2 separate regions of the Homo sapiens genome follow, and region 1 is linked to region 2. The links are contacts of gene promoters, found by promoter capture Hi-C in blood cells and fetal thymus (Javierre and others, 2016). All regions are on one chromosome and are shown on one strand. Each heading gives the region's core, a stretch centred on a gene start or on the middle of the fragment in contact. The rest is flanking DNA. Distances are from core to core; before and after follow the strand shown.

Region 1 (6,038 bases), core at 985-3,484, 110 kb before region 2:
ATAGAAAGATGGCTGTCTCATGCGGCTAAGAGAGTATAGCCATCTCATGGGTTAAATGAGGTAACATGTAAAGCACCTGGCACAAAACCAGGACCTAAATAAACGTGTTTTTCCTAGCTCTGTGGCCACACTTACCTTTTTGGTTCCTCCTTTCTCTGCCCTCTCTGCCATGAGACCTTTGCATGTTCTGTTCTCACTACCTGAAGAGCTCTTCCTTTCATCTTTGCCTTTTTCTGGCTACCAGTTACCCTTTCAGCCTTTAGATTGCTCAAGCTTGTTTCCTCAGGTCCAGTCCTAGACCTCTAGGCTTATAACTGGGATACCAGCCTTCAGAGGAGTTTGTGGTTTACTGGCTTATAGTAATGTAATGTGATGCTTCATCTCACTCTGCCTCCCCAACTAGAAAGTCAGCTCCTTCAGGGGGAAGGCTGATTTTACTCACCACCACCTTCCCAGCACCCAGTGCTGTTTTTGTTGAAACAGTAAAGGATATGCGAATGCTATGGGAGGAGTAAACCAGTTTTTGAGTTTTTTGCTTGCTATACCAGCCTTAGTTGTGAGATGGAGCCCCTTGGTCAAAACAAATCACCACCTGCACTCTGGTCTTCTCACTTAACAGGGGAGAATTGCCACAGTTGTCTTCTGTGGTCCCGGGCAACTCTGTTCTTTGCCTCTTTGTTTCCATAAAGATGAAGCCCATCCAGAAAAGGTACTCATGCTGGCTGGGAGAGGTGGCATGGGGAAGGGGATGGACAGAGCAATTTGGAAGATCAGAGAGGCCTCTGCCCCTACGAAGGGCCATGCTTGCCACCAGTCTTCCTGCTGTGTGGTGCTCCCATCGCACAGGCTGCTTCTGGAGATGCTCGGGTTGTTCAGGCCCTGTGGCTTTTGGCAAGGCAGGAGCATCTGTGCTTCTGCTGACATAAAAGAGGGTAATAAAAGTGACACAGGAAAGCGGTGTTGTGAGGCTTTAGTGATGGTGGAGCAGTGTTGCTGAAGTCCCTCAGGGAGTTTGGATTTGATTGCAGTGAGTCTGGCTACATCTGAAGCCTATAATAGTTTACAGTACAAGATGCTATGTATAAGATGTCAAACATTTGCTTGGTAGAATGCTATGATTGTCAGGAGTTTACTTTTGCACTGAAAATAGTCTTGTTGGTTTGGTGTAAGTAGAGTCACATTGCAGCACACACACAGGCATTCATGCTTTTATGTTTGTTAATTGTAAGGAAATGTTTTCTCAAGGCAAGAGTCAAAGGTTAGCAGAGTGCCAAAGACCTTCTCAAAGAGGAAAGTCTCATTTTAGAAACTTCATTTTGTACGCCAAAACTTGCCTTTCAGTAGTCTCATGTAATGTTTTTGCTGACATGAGTTGAAAAGTGCATTCTGTTGTAAAGGAGGAAAAAAACTGAAGAGGAACCGTAAGCGTGATTATGAAGAAGAGAAAAGAGCAGGAAGAAAGTAGACATCATCCCAGATTTAAATTTCATATTGTTAAAATCATTTGGTTGCAAGCAGTAGAAATTTTCTATAACTAACTTAGATAAACAAGGACTTGTTGGACACCTGCTGTCCAACATTCACAAAACCTAAAGAAGAAAACTGAACTAGATCTAGTGTGGCTAGGGATTTCAGGGACAGGAATTAACAAATCTCCTGAGGAGGCTGCCATCAAAATGACTGTGTTAACTGTTGTCCATCCTGGTGTATTCTACTCACATTTCAGACTCCTGCGAGAGGCTGATTGACCTGGTTTGAATCTCGTGCCTACCCACTCGTAGTCCCTCCAGACCCCAGGGGGTGAGCGAAGGGTGTTTGCCTGAAGGAAGAGTGGAACAGGAGCTGGGCAGGGAAAAAAGAACAGATGTTCATTCTACTGGCCACATAGCCACAGTCAGTGGTAATGATTTTCCCTGGCCAGACTTGGTGGCCAGTAGTTACTAGTCTCCTTTCTCTTCAGAAACATCTGCTCTTGTCAGAGTTATAGCCTATTCTTGATGAGCTGCAGCAAAAATGTACCACTTAAATTGGAGATGGATCATTTCCTGAGGATCTCAGAATATCTTTTTCAGTTAGCTTTATAAAGTAATTGTCCAGATGGCCATTTAATTTGTGATATGGGATAAAGTAATCTAGGGGAAAAAACACTTCTTTAAAATGACTTTTTTTTTTTGGGGGGGCCGGGCACACTGGCTTACACCTGTAATCCCAGCACTTTGCGAGGCCAAGCTGGGTGGATCACCTGGGGTCAGGAGTTCGAGAGCAGCCTGGCCAACATGGCAAAACCCCGTCTCTACTAAAAAATAAAAAAAAAAAAAAGCTGGGTGTGGTGGCAGGCACCTGTAATCCCAGCTACTTGGGAGGCTGAGGCAGGAGAATTGCTTAAACCCTGGAGGTGGAGGTTGCAGTGAGCTGAGATTGTGCCACTGTACTCCAGCCTGGGTGACAGAGTGAGACTCCATCTCAAAAAAATAAAATAAAATGACTTTTTTTAAATTGTGAAGAATATAGGTTAAGATTATATTGCAGTAGTAACGTAATAATATATTCAGGATAAAAAATTGAAGTTAGATCTGAAATATCAACATCCTAAACTAAGAAAAACCTTTTAAATTAATGTACTCTTGTTTTTTTCTTCTTAGCTAATAGTAAATAACGATAGACTCACACTCCCAGGAAGGGTGAGGAAGGGACAATTCAGACCTCTCTAGACTCCATGCATGGCCTGGTTAAATCACTTTTTTTTATCAGCATCTCATTTTTCCTTCCAGCAAGTTTATATCCTCATTGAGGAAGAGTGTCTTGCCAGAAGATTATTGTGATAATTTTTATAAGATATGTATATTCTTTTCTGAATCTCAGAGTAAATATTCTTTGTCTTCCTAAATGAACTGGTAGAATGTTTACATTTTCATTCTATTTCTGTAGAATTTTTTTTTTTTTAATTGAAACAGAGTCTTGCTCTGTTGCCCAGGCTGGAGTGCAGTGGCGCGATCTCGGCTCACTGCAACCTCTGCCTCCCGGGTTCCAGTGATTCTCCTGCCTCAGCCTCCCTAGTAGCTGGGACTACAGGTGTGTACCACCACGCCTGGCTAATTTGTGTGTTTTTTAGTAGAGACAGGGTTTCACCGTATTGGCCAGGCTGGTCTCGAAATGCTGACCTCGTGATCCACCTGCCTCAGCCTCCCGAAGTGCTGGGATTACAGACATCAGCCACCGCACCCAGCCATTTCCGTAGAATTTATAGCCTCCCTGTTGCAGTGAGCTGAGATTGTGCCACTGCACTCCAGCCTGGGCGACAGAGTGAGACTCTGTCTCCAAAAAAAAAAAAAAAAAAGAATTTATACCCTCCCTATTTCTTCTCTCCCACTTCTGCCTTCTCTTCCACTTCTGCCTTCTCCCCTTGTTCCTCATAGTCCTTGGGCATGTGCTACTTCAGCAGAGACCTGGGTCCTCTTTTGTGAAATTCAGTCAACAAAAAGCTCAAGGAACAAGTTAAGACTGAAGACTGATCGAGTTCATGTAAGTGTGGTAGGATTGCATGGTGCCATTTGATATTAAAAGGCATGTATTGTTTAAGAAACTAAACAAAAGCCAACTGTGTTTGAACAACAATGTTTGTCAGTGAGCTAGCTAGATATGGAGGATAAAGATATGTATAGTGTGTTCCAGCCACAGACTAGATTGTGAAAAAGAGAACCAGCAAAAAAAAAAAAACCCGCAAAACAAAAAACCCTGCAACTTAATCTCAGAGTTCTCTCCTGTAATAGACAGTAATACATTTATAGTTAGAAAACTTCAATTTGGTTTGGCAATATCCCAACTATAGAACTTCAAATAACTGATATATATACCCAGACACAAAACTTTTTATCAACTGAATAGCCAGTTGTGGATTTTGAGCAATAAATGGGGGGGGGGGGGGAACTACTTTAAAAACATTAAGCCATGAGTTTATTCAATCTGTATCTTTGTCTTCTAGTAAGTAAATTTGCTTTCATTGTTAAACAGCAGCAACAAAGGGACACCAAAGATCTTTGCATACCTTACTTGGTTGTAAACTTTTTGAAGTCAAAGGTAATTTTTCTAACTTCTTTGCAGTAGCTAAAACTTACATAGCAGCCTCTTTAAGCAGGGAAAATTATTGTAAAGAAATTGCTCTTAGATAACTTTCCACTCAAGGGTTTTAAGCTTTTTGTTTTGTTTGTAAAATCTTTTACGATGAGCACTTTGTAAGTCTACTAGTTAGCTCAAAGCAGTTCTCCTTGAGGACCCACATCTACTCCAGGCTGGGAGACAGAGCGAGACACCATCACTTAAAAAAAAAAAAAAAGATAATAAATATAGAGGGAAATGAATTGTGATGCGGGCGTAAAAGTGCTGTCTGCATCGGCTCCCTTCTATTACTGCTTCCTAAAGTTGTTGTGAGGATTAAATGAGTTAATGTAGGTAAGCATTCAGAACAGTGCCTGGCACATAAGTGCTATGGATGTGTTAACTGTTATTATTGTTAAGAACGATCTAAACACAGTGGTCAGGAATGGCAAAGTCAAGAGTTCTGATAGGATACTATGGTTATTTAGACTCAAAAGCAAAGCTGCCAAAATCCAGCTGACCTTCCTTTTGATATTTAGAGGAAATTCTGTTACCTAAGACTGATATTTCATTATAGCCACTCAACAAATGTTCATTTGTACATTCTATGTGTTGGGCACTGTGCCAGGTACTGGGGGAGCTACAGAGACATGACATAAATATCACCATGAGGTGCTTAAAATTTAATTGGAAAGTTAATAAGAACAAAAATAACTATAGTAAAAGGCCAGTATGCTAAGTACAATAATAAAGGTGCAGATAATGTAAGTGAGCACTCAGAAGAGGGAGAGCTTACTTTCAGTTAGGAAAATCTCGAGGGCCGGGCACAATGGCTCATGCCTGTAATTCCAGCTCTTTGGGAGGCAGATTGCTTGACTCCAGGAGTTAAGACCAGCCTGCACAACATGGGGAAACCTGTCTCCACAAAAAATACAAAAATTAGCTAGGTGTGGTGGCACATGCCTGTAGCCTCAGCTTCTCGGGTGGGTGAAGTGGGAGGATCAACTGAGCCTGGGAGGTTGAGGCTACAGTGAGCTGCAACCATGCCACTGCACTTCTAGCCTGGGCAACAGAGTGAGACCTTGCCTCAAAAAAAAAAAAAAAAAGAAAAAAGAAAAAAAAAAAAACAATCCTGGAGGAAACAGTGCTTGACCTAGGTCTGAGTGGATGTGGCATTGATAGATGGACAAACGAAAAACAGACAATGCTTTTTATCAGTATCATTGGAGGACACAACATGAACAGTGGTGAGGGGGAAGGAAATGGGTCTATGCTCAAAAGAAGGTCCAAGCCAACCATCTTTATTATTTGCACATAACCTGTTATAAAATGATACTGCTCGTGTTCATAACAGTGGACCGTAACCATCTGTTGAGCATGATGCTGTTGCCAAGCGTTGTTGTTCAAGGTGTTTCATCCTTGTTCTTACATTCCATACAATAACCATATGAGTTAAGTGTTATTTTAGCTATTTTAGAGATGAAAAAAGAGCTACACAGAAGATGACTGTGCCACAATTTCAGCACAGAACTGGTTGGCGTAAAAGCCTCTGTTTCTTTCTGATATTCCTGGGTGCTGCTTGGAGATCACAAGTATTTGATTGACAGATATTAGACACATATGCTATCATCTTGAGAATAGAAATGGATACAAATTAGGATATTCTTCATTCTTGCTTCTGTATTTTCAACAAACAGGTTTTCTGCCTCTAGTGTTTCCTGGAAACACCAAATAAAAACATATTTTTGTCTTTGACCAAGAGTGTGCTTCTGAAAAACTTGCTCAGTGAGCATGCAATCAGTACAGCATTGGGTGTTCTGGAGGGAACATTCATTCTGGCTGTAGTGGCTTGAGGACCCATATCTACAAGCTTTGACCCGCTCCCTTTTCTGTGCCAGGTAAATAGTCTTATCTATATAAATCAAATTTGAACTCTTAGAATG
Region 2 (6,268 bases), core at 1,219-3,718:
GTGAAGGTTGCAGTAAGCCAAGATCACACCACTGCACTCCAGCAAGGCATATATTTGTGGAAATTTAGGCAACAACTATACAATAAATATACACAAATATGCCAAGATGTCAACCCTAGATCACTTCAACCTCTGTCCTAATCATTTCCAACACCTAGATGCAACCCTGCAGACTGGGACCAGCATCACTTAAGACTCCTCTGCCATCCCTTAGCAATAGGCTCAGCTCCCTAGCCCATGCCCTATGCACCTCTTCTAAACCTTCAACACCTTCCTCAAATTTCTCCACTGCACTCCATCTCATTTTCAGTCAATTACTTTGCCTTCTGTTTCTCAAAGAAAAGAGACATCATTGAGCAGGAACCTTCTCACGTTCTCATATCCAAGCCGTTTTGGCTCACAACCTACTTGCTGTCTCAGTTAAAGACTTGCCCCCTTATGGGATCCTACACTGTCCTACTGCCTCAGAAATCTTGTTCTTAATCCCATCCCCTCATTGCTTCAACTCTCATTCCTGTCACTCTCGACTGGCCTTTTTCCTTTCACATAACCATGCTTAAATCTATCTCAACTTTCAAATGAAAGAAATTTTTAAAATTCTCTTTCGGCCGGGTGTGGTGGCTCATGCCTGTAATCCCAGCACTTCAGGAGGCTGAGGCGAGTGGATCACGAGGTCAGGAGACTGAGACCATCCTGGCTAACACGGTGAAACCCCGTCTCTACTAAAAAAAATACAAAAAATTAGCCGGGTGTGGTGGCATGCACCTGTAGTCCCAGCTGCTCAGGAGGCTGAGGCAGGAGAATCGCTTGAACCCGGGAGGTGGAGGTTGCAGTAAGCCGAGACTGCACCACTGCACTCCAGCCTGGGTGACAGAGTGAGACTCTGTCTCAAAAAAAAAAAAAAAAAATCCTCTTTCAACCACACTTTCCACTCTAGCAACTACCCTGTATCACCCCTTCTCTTCACAGCCAAGCAAACTGGACATGTGTGTATGGTTAATGTCTCCATTTTCCCTCTCCCATTTACTCATTAAGTCAGCATCACTTAAAACTGCTTTCGGTGTTAATAACACCAATGGCTTTTTTGCTAAAACCAATGGAAATGTTTGCATCTGACACTGGGACACACTTCCTCTTAGAAATGTCCCATTCCCTGGGCTTCTCTGATACCAAGCTCTTGGGATTCTTCTTTCATTTCTAGTGGTTCCTTCTCAGATTGGCTCAGTCCCCAGCCTCTCCTCTTCTGACTCATTCATTTAACCTACCAAGAAGGCAACCTCCCCAGTCCCAGGGCTGTTGGGCATCCCTACCCTTTGGGCATGCAGCACATCCATTTTTCTGACACTGGAGGGCAAGTGTGCCTTTTCTTTCTGCCTCCCGCTAGACAGTAAGCTCTTTTAGAATGGCAACTATTAATATGTTTCATCTCTGTACCTGCCCTCCCACTCATAGCATCTGCAGAGCTTGGTATATGGGGTAGACACGAAGACTTCCCGTTGAAGAAGTAAATGACTGAGACCTGAGTGACCACAGTACTTCTATCAATTTTATATTAATGACCACAGAGTCAGCTCAGTGATTGATTAGTATCAGGCTTTGGAGTCAGACATCGGGGGTGCCCAATACCAAGCAGTCCGGTAACCAGAAGCATGACCTTGCACAAGTAAATCTCCAAGAGCCTCAGTTTCCTCATTGTCAAATGGAGATAATTATGGTACCTGCTTCTTAAGATTATGATAATTAAACGTGAAAAATACATGTAAAGTCTTCAGAGACAAACCTAGCACATAGCAGGTAGCAGTACTTAATGTTAGCAATAAATAATAGCAAATAAAGTCAATATTTAATATTATTGTTACGTTAGCATCAGGTACATGCCTTCGACAATGTATTGATCAGAGTAAGAGCACTACTAGGTTTCCATGCTGATCACCAGGAAGACAACCAAAAACTGCTGTCTTCCTACCACCGCTTGGAAACATGCGTCCATTTGCTCATTAAACGTTTTACTTCCTTCCTGTGCCAGAGCTCTGCCTTAGGCTCTGTCCTGAAATTTATTTGGCACCTGCAAAGGCCCAGTGATAACTCTTGGCAACCGAATCAAAATGCCACAACTTCACAATTCCACTGGCTCACTCCAAACGTGAAATAGAAATTGAGCACCTGGAACCTATCTAGAGCCTGCTTTTGGGCCCTGGTGTTTGATAACTGCGCCCCACCCACTGACTCTCAACCTCTGCAGCGCCCCGGGCTCTAGCCCTAAGCGCCCCTCGGCCAGCCGCTGGCACATCTCTTACACCAGGGGAGGCGCGCGCGCGCGCACACATACACACACACACACGCACACACACACACACACACACCAGCCTTCCTTGCCCACCTGCTGCCCAGAGGCCGACGACGCATGCACCAGCAAGGACAAGCCCAGTCTTTTCAAGCGACACCTGTCGCCTGGCCTTTTCCGTGCCGGAGGGCGCGAGTCTCACGCTGTCTTTTAAATGCGTCACCCAAATCCCCACCCCTATCTGTACCAGGCGTTCCGCACTCCTCCCAGTGGTTTGCATGTGCACTGGTGCTTTCCTTTTAGGACTTAGGGGAACTCCAGCGGTAATAACCACACACACTTCCTCTTAATCAGTGGCCTGGCAAACCCACTCGGGGATTTCCATGACCCAAAAGCATGACTCTTAACCGTGGCATATCTTCGCGGCATTTACTGAAAGACATTTGCTTCATTGCTCGTGGGTCAGAGGAAATCTTGATAACAACCCATATAGAGAGGACGATCATTGCTTAGCCTGCCTGGAAAAGGTCAATATGCCCTGTTCTCCACCCTCCATCCGCCATACACTTTACACGTAAAAAGGTTAGGTTTTTCAATCTTCTACTATAGCTGCAGAAGTCCAGCATTTAAAAAAAAAAAAATCGAAACTTTGTGAAATATTTCTATTTATTTTTACTTTTTGTTCTGATCAAGAAAGTAAGAGGTGAAAGGAAATGTAGGGGTATGTGAAAAAAATCATGCAGTTCTCCTTTGCAGTTTATTTTACCATTTTAAAGATTGAAATGGCTTGGTAAATTTTCTGTATGGAAATACTTTTGTTTGGTTTGGTGAGTTGTTTTTTTTTTTTTTTTAATAAGTAGGGTGGAGTTGGCTACTTAAAAAAATCCCTCCTTTATAGCCTTTGATCTCACAGGGCAGGTTTCTGAGTTGCAGTGCCATTCTCAGGGAAACCTGACATCTTTGAGTCTAATTGCACTGCCATATTTCCCTCAACGTTCTCTAAGCAGTAAATTTAAGCAACTTTATCTGAGAGCCATCCGTACCAGGGTAACAGATGGATTTGGAGAGCTCATCTGATTTTCTATCTTCCAGTAGATCAAAGACAATTACCAACCAGAGACAGAGCCCATAAAGATTATTGGAGACTTCATCGTTCTGTGGAAACAGCATCCAGTGCATTCTGCACGCAATTGGACTGAGCTGAGGCATCCTCTTGTTTAGGTGGACTTGGCTGTCCATAGCAGCTGAAGTTCCAGTTGGAATTATTTCAGAAAGACTAAGTGTATTTATCATATGGAGATTTTAATCCACATTTGAGTCTGCTTCAATCAAGACTTTCTAAGCCATTTTCAACTCACTCCTGAGATTATTGAAAATAATTTGCAGGCCTTACACATTTTTGATTATGTACTCACCAGAAGAATTTTGAAAAGCTCTGCATTCCCTTGCCCATTTTTAACTTAACATTAAAACATAAAGCTCTTGTACATGTCAAGAATCTACAAAATGTAAACATAGATATTTTCAGAAAAAATTGATAGAGCACTCTTTTAAATGTATTTGATGGATCCTAATACCATAGTAATTTGACATACATGATCATCCATGAAGCAATTATCAGGTCATCTTTAATAACTGAAAATATTTTATCATTGCCTTTTGTCATTGAACATTCCAATTCCCCTACAGAATGTTAATACATGTTTGTACTGAACATCTTTTATCATCTCTCTGTCACATATCTCTGAAACAAATACATATTAGAACTTGAAATCTATTTTTTTCTCTGGGATCATAAGGATCTAAGTGTTAAAAAAAAAAAAAATTCCTCTTTGACCAGGCATGGTGGCTCACGCCTATAATACCAGCACTTTGGGAGGCGAAGGTGGGTGGATCATCTGAGGTCAGGAGTTCAAGACCAGTCTGGCCAACATGGTGAAACCGGTCTCTCCCAAAAATACAAAAATGAGCCAAGTGTGGTGGTGCACGCCTGTAGTCCCAGCTACTTGGGAGGCTGAGGCACAAGAATCACTTGAACCTGGGAGGCAGAGGTTGCAATGAGTCAAGACAGTGCCACTGCACTCCAGCCCTGGAACAGAGTGAGACTGCATCTCAAAAAAAAAAAAAAAAAATCCTCTTTGATTACATTATCATTGATATTGTTTTCATTACTTTTAAAGCATAATTGGTCAATACAATATAAAAATATCGTAAATGTTAATAACTGCATTACAAATACAATTTAAGGGGGTGGCAGCTTGTATTTTAAGCAAGTTTTTCAAGTGTGCAGTCATGAATATTACCTATAGCTATAATATGTTAGGGTTCAGCACAGATTCTGTTCCTTTTTTCATTTCTACAGACATAAATGTTGTAAACCTTATTTCACAGAAGTAAGTAGATAAGTAGATAGGCCCAGAAGAAACATTATTATGGCAATTTTTTCACAATTTAAAAAATATGTTTTATATTCCAAAAATCATTTAGTGATCTCTAATCAAAATATGTAATTACTTATCAGTAGACAACTCAATTTTGTTGAAATTGGTGGTTTAGAAACCACTGAACTTTTGGTATCCAGATACAGTTGACAGAGTTAGCAAATTAAAACAGAGAACACCTAGTTAAATTTTGGTTTAATATAAACAATGAATGCATTTCCAGTATAAGAATGTATTGTGCAATATTTGGCACCTAGCTATACTAATAAGTTATTCATTAGTTATCTGAAATTTAGATTCAGTTTGGTGTTCTGTATTTTACCTGGCAACCCTATATCCAGATATTAGAGTCATTCATTTTCTCAACACTAATACAGATCGATTATTTCAAATCATCCAGGAGGTTTCTACACCCAGAGAAATATACGATTTTAAAACTCATGATAGGTGAGAGGTGAGCCTGTCTTTTAAGGGAAGACAGAGAACCATTGTGAAAAGGGAGATGAGAAGACAGAACAACCCTGGCAACCTTCACAGTTCTTGTTTTCAAGCAGATCAGTTTTGGGAGAAGCTACATATGGAAGTTGAGAGTGAGACTATTAATTCCTTAAAACTATTTGAGCTCCCACCTCCCTGTTGGTAAGTCTTTGTAAACACCCAGGGGCACACTTACCCCAGTTTAAAAACTATGGCTGGCCAGGCACATTGGCTCACACCTGTAATCCCAGCACTTTGGGAGGCTGAGGTGTGTGGATCACCGGAGGTCAGGAGTTCGAGACCAGCCTGGTCAACATGGCAAAACCCCATTTCTACTAAAAATACAAAGATAAGCGGGTCATGGTGGCAGGTGCCTGTAATCCCAGCTACTTGGGAGGCTGAGGCAGGAGAATTGCTTGAACCCGGGGAGGCAGAGGTTACAGTGAGCTGAGATCTCGCTACTGCACTCCAGCCTGGGAGAGAGAGCAAGAATCCATTGCCAAAAAAGTAAATAAATAAAAATAAATAAAGACCATGGCTTAAGAAATCCCTGAATTGACTGAGTCTCGCGTTTTTCAAACTGGTCATGAGAGCTAGGGTCAGGCCTAGTAGGTTGGAAGCAAATTAACATGTCTGCTTTGCAACATTTTGCACAATTAAAAAAAAAATGGTTTCCCTAGATAAATGTGTATGGGCAAGCACTGTATATATTTGTTCACTGCATTATTCTAGTACTAGTAGAGTGTCTGCTCAAAGGTGCTCAGTAAACCTTTGTTTACTGACTAACAAAAATAGAGCCAATCTATCCAAACTATCCACTTGGGCTTTCTCTATTCTAAACCTGCATCCACATCTTTAATGGTGTAACCTACCTTGCATTTTCTTTCTAACTCTTTGTATATCTCACATACTTTATTAAAAAAACTCCTCTTTTCCTTTCAACATCCAGCTGTTATCCTTGTGCAGGGGGCATGCTAATCTTCTTGGTAGGGTTCCAATTTTAGTATATGTGCTGCCAAAGCAAGCACAGCCTAAATATATTTTCTCTCCAAATACTCTTATTTTC

The links. The method cuts DNA at HindIII sites, captures the fragments that hold promoters and counts their contacts. A CHiCAGO score of 5 or more calls a contact.
Region 1: a fragment that was not itself captured here is called in contact with the fragment with the promoter of BIRC3 in region 2 in 5 of 17 cell types (activated CD4 T cells, non-activated CD4 T cells, total CD4 T cells and 2 more); the score reaches 9.0 in activated CD4 T cells.

Annotation. Positions count from the first base shown.
Region 1 is chr11:102,424,747-102,430,784 of GRCh38, reverse strand. All of the region lies in intron 2 of TMEM123 (transmembrane protein 123), which reads left to right. Among named protein-coding and RNA genes, the nearest start is that of TMEM123, 25 kb to the left of the region's middle. RefSeq lists enhancers at 736-885, 966-1,025 and a silencer at 1,650-1,827. The HindIII fragment of the contact is 3,918 bases long and covers 276-4,193 here.
Region 2 is chr11:102,313,684-102,319,951 of GRCh38, reverse strand. It overlaps BIRC3 (baculoviral IAP repeat containing 3), which reads right to left and starts at 2,468. Exons shown (of 9, transcript NM_001165.5): 1 at 2,381-2,468. LOC124902739 (a long non-coding RNA gene) reads left to right here and starts at 2,709. Exons shown (of 2, transcript XR_007062864.1): 1 at 2,709-2,866; 2 at 3,380-4,057. It also overlaps the pseudogene RNU6-952P. RefSeq lists enhancers at 217-296, 1,477-1,676, 2,478-2,837, 2,848-2,917, 1,822-3,021 and 1 more. The HindIII fragment of the contact is 7,438 bases long and covers 1-6,268 here.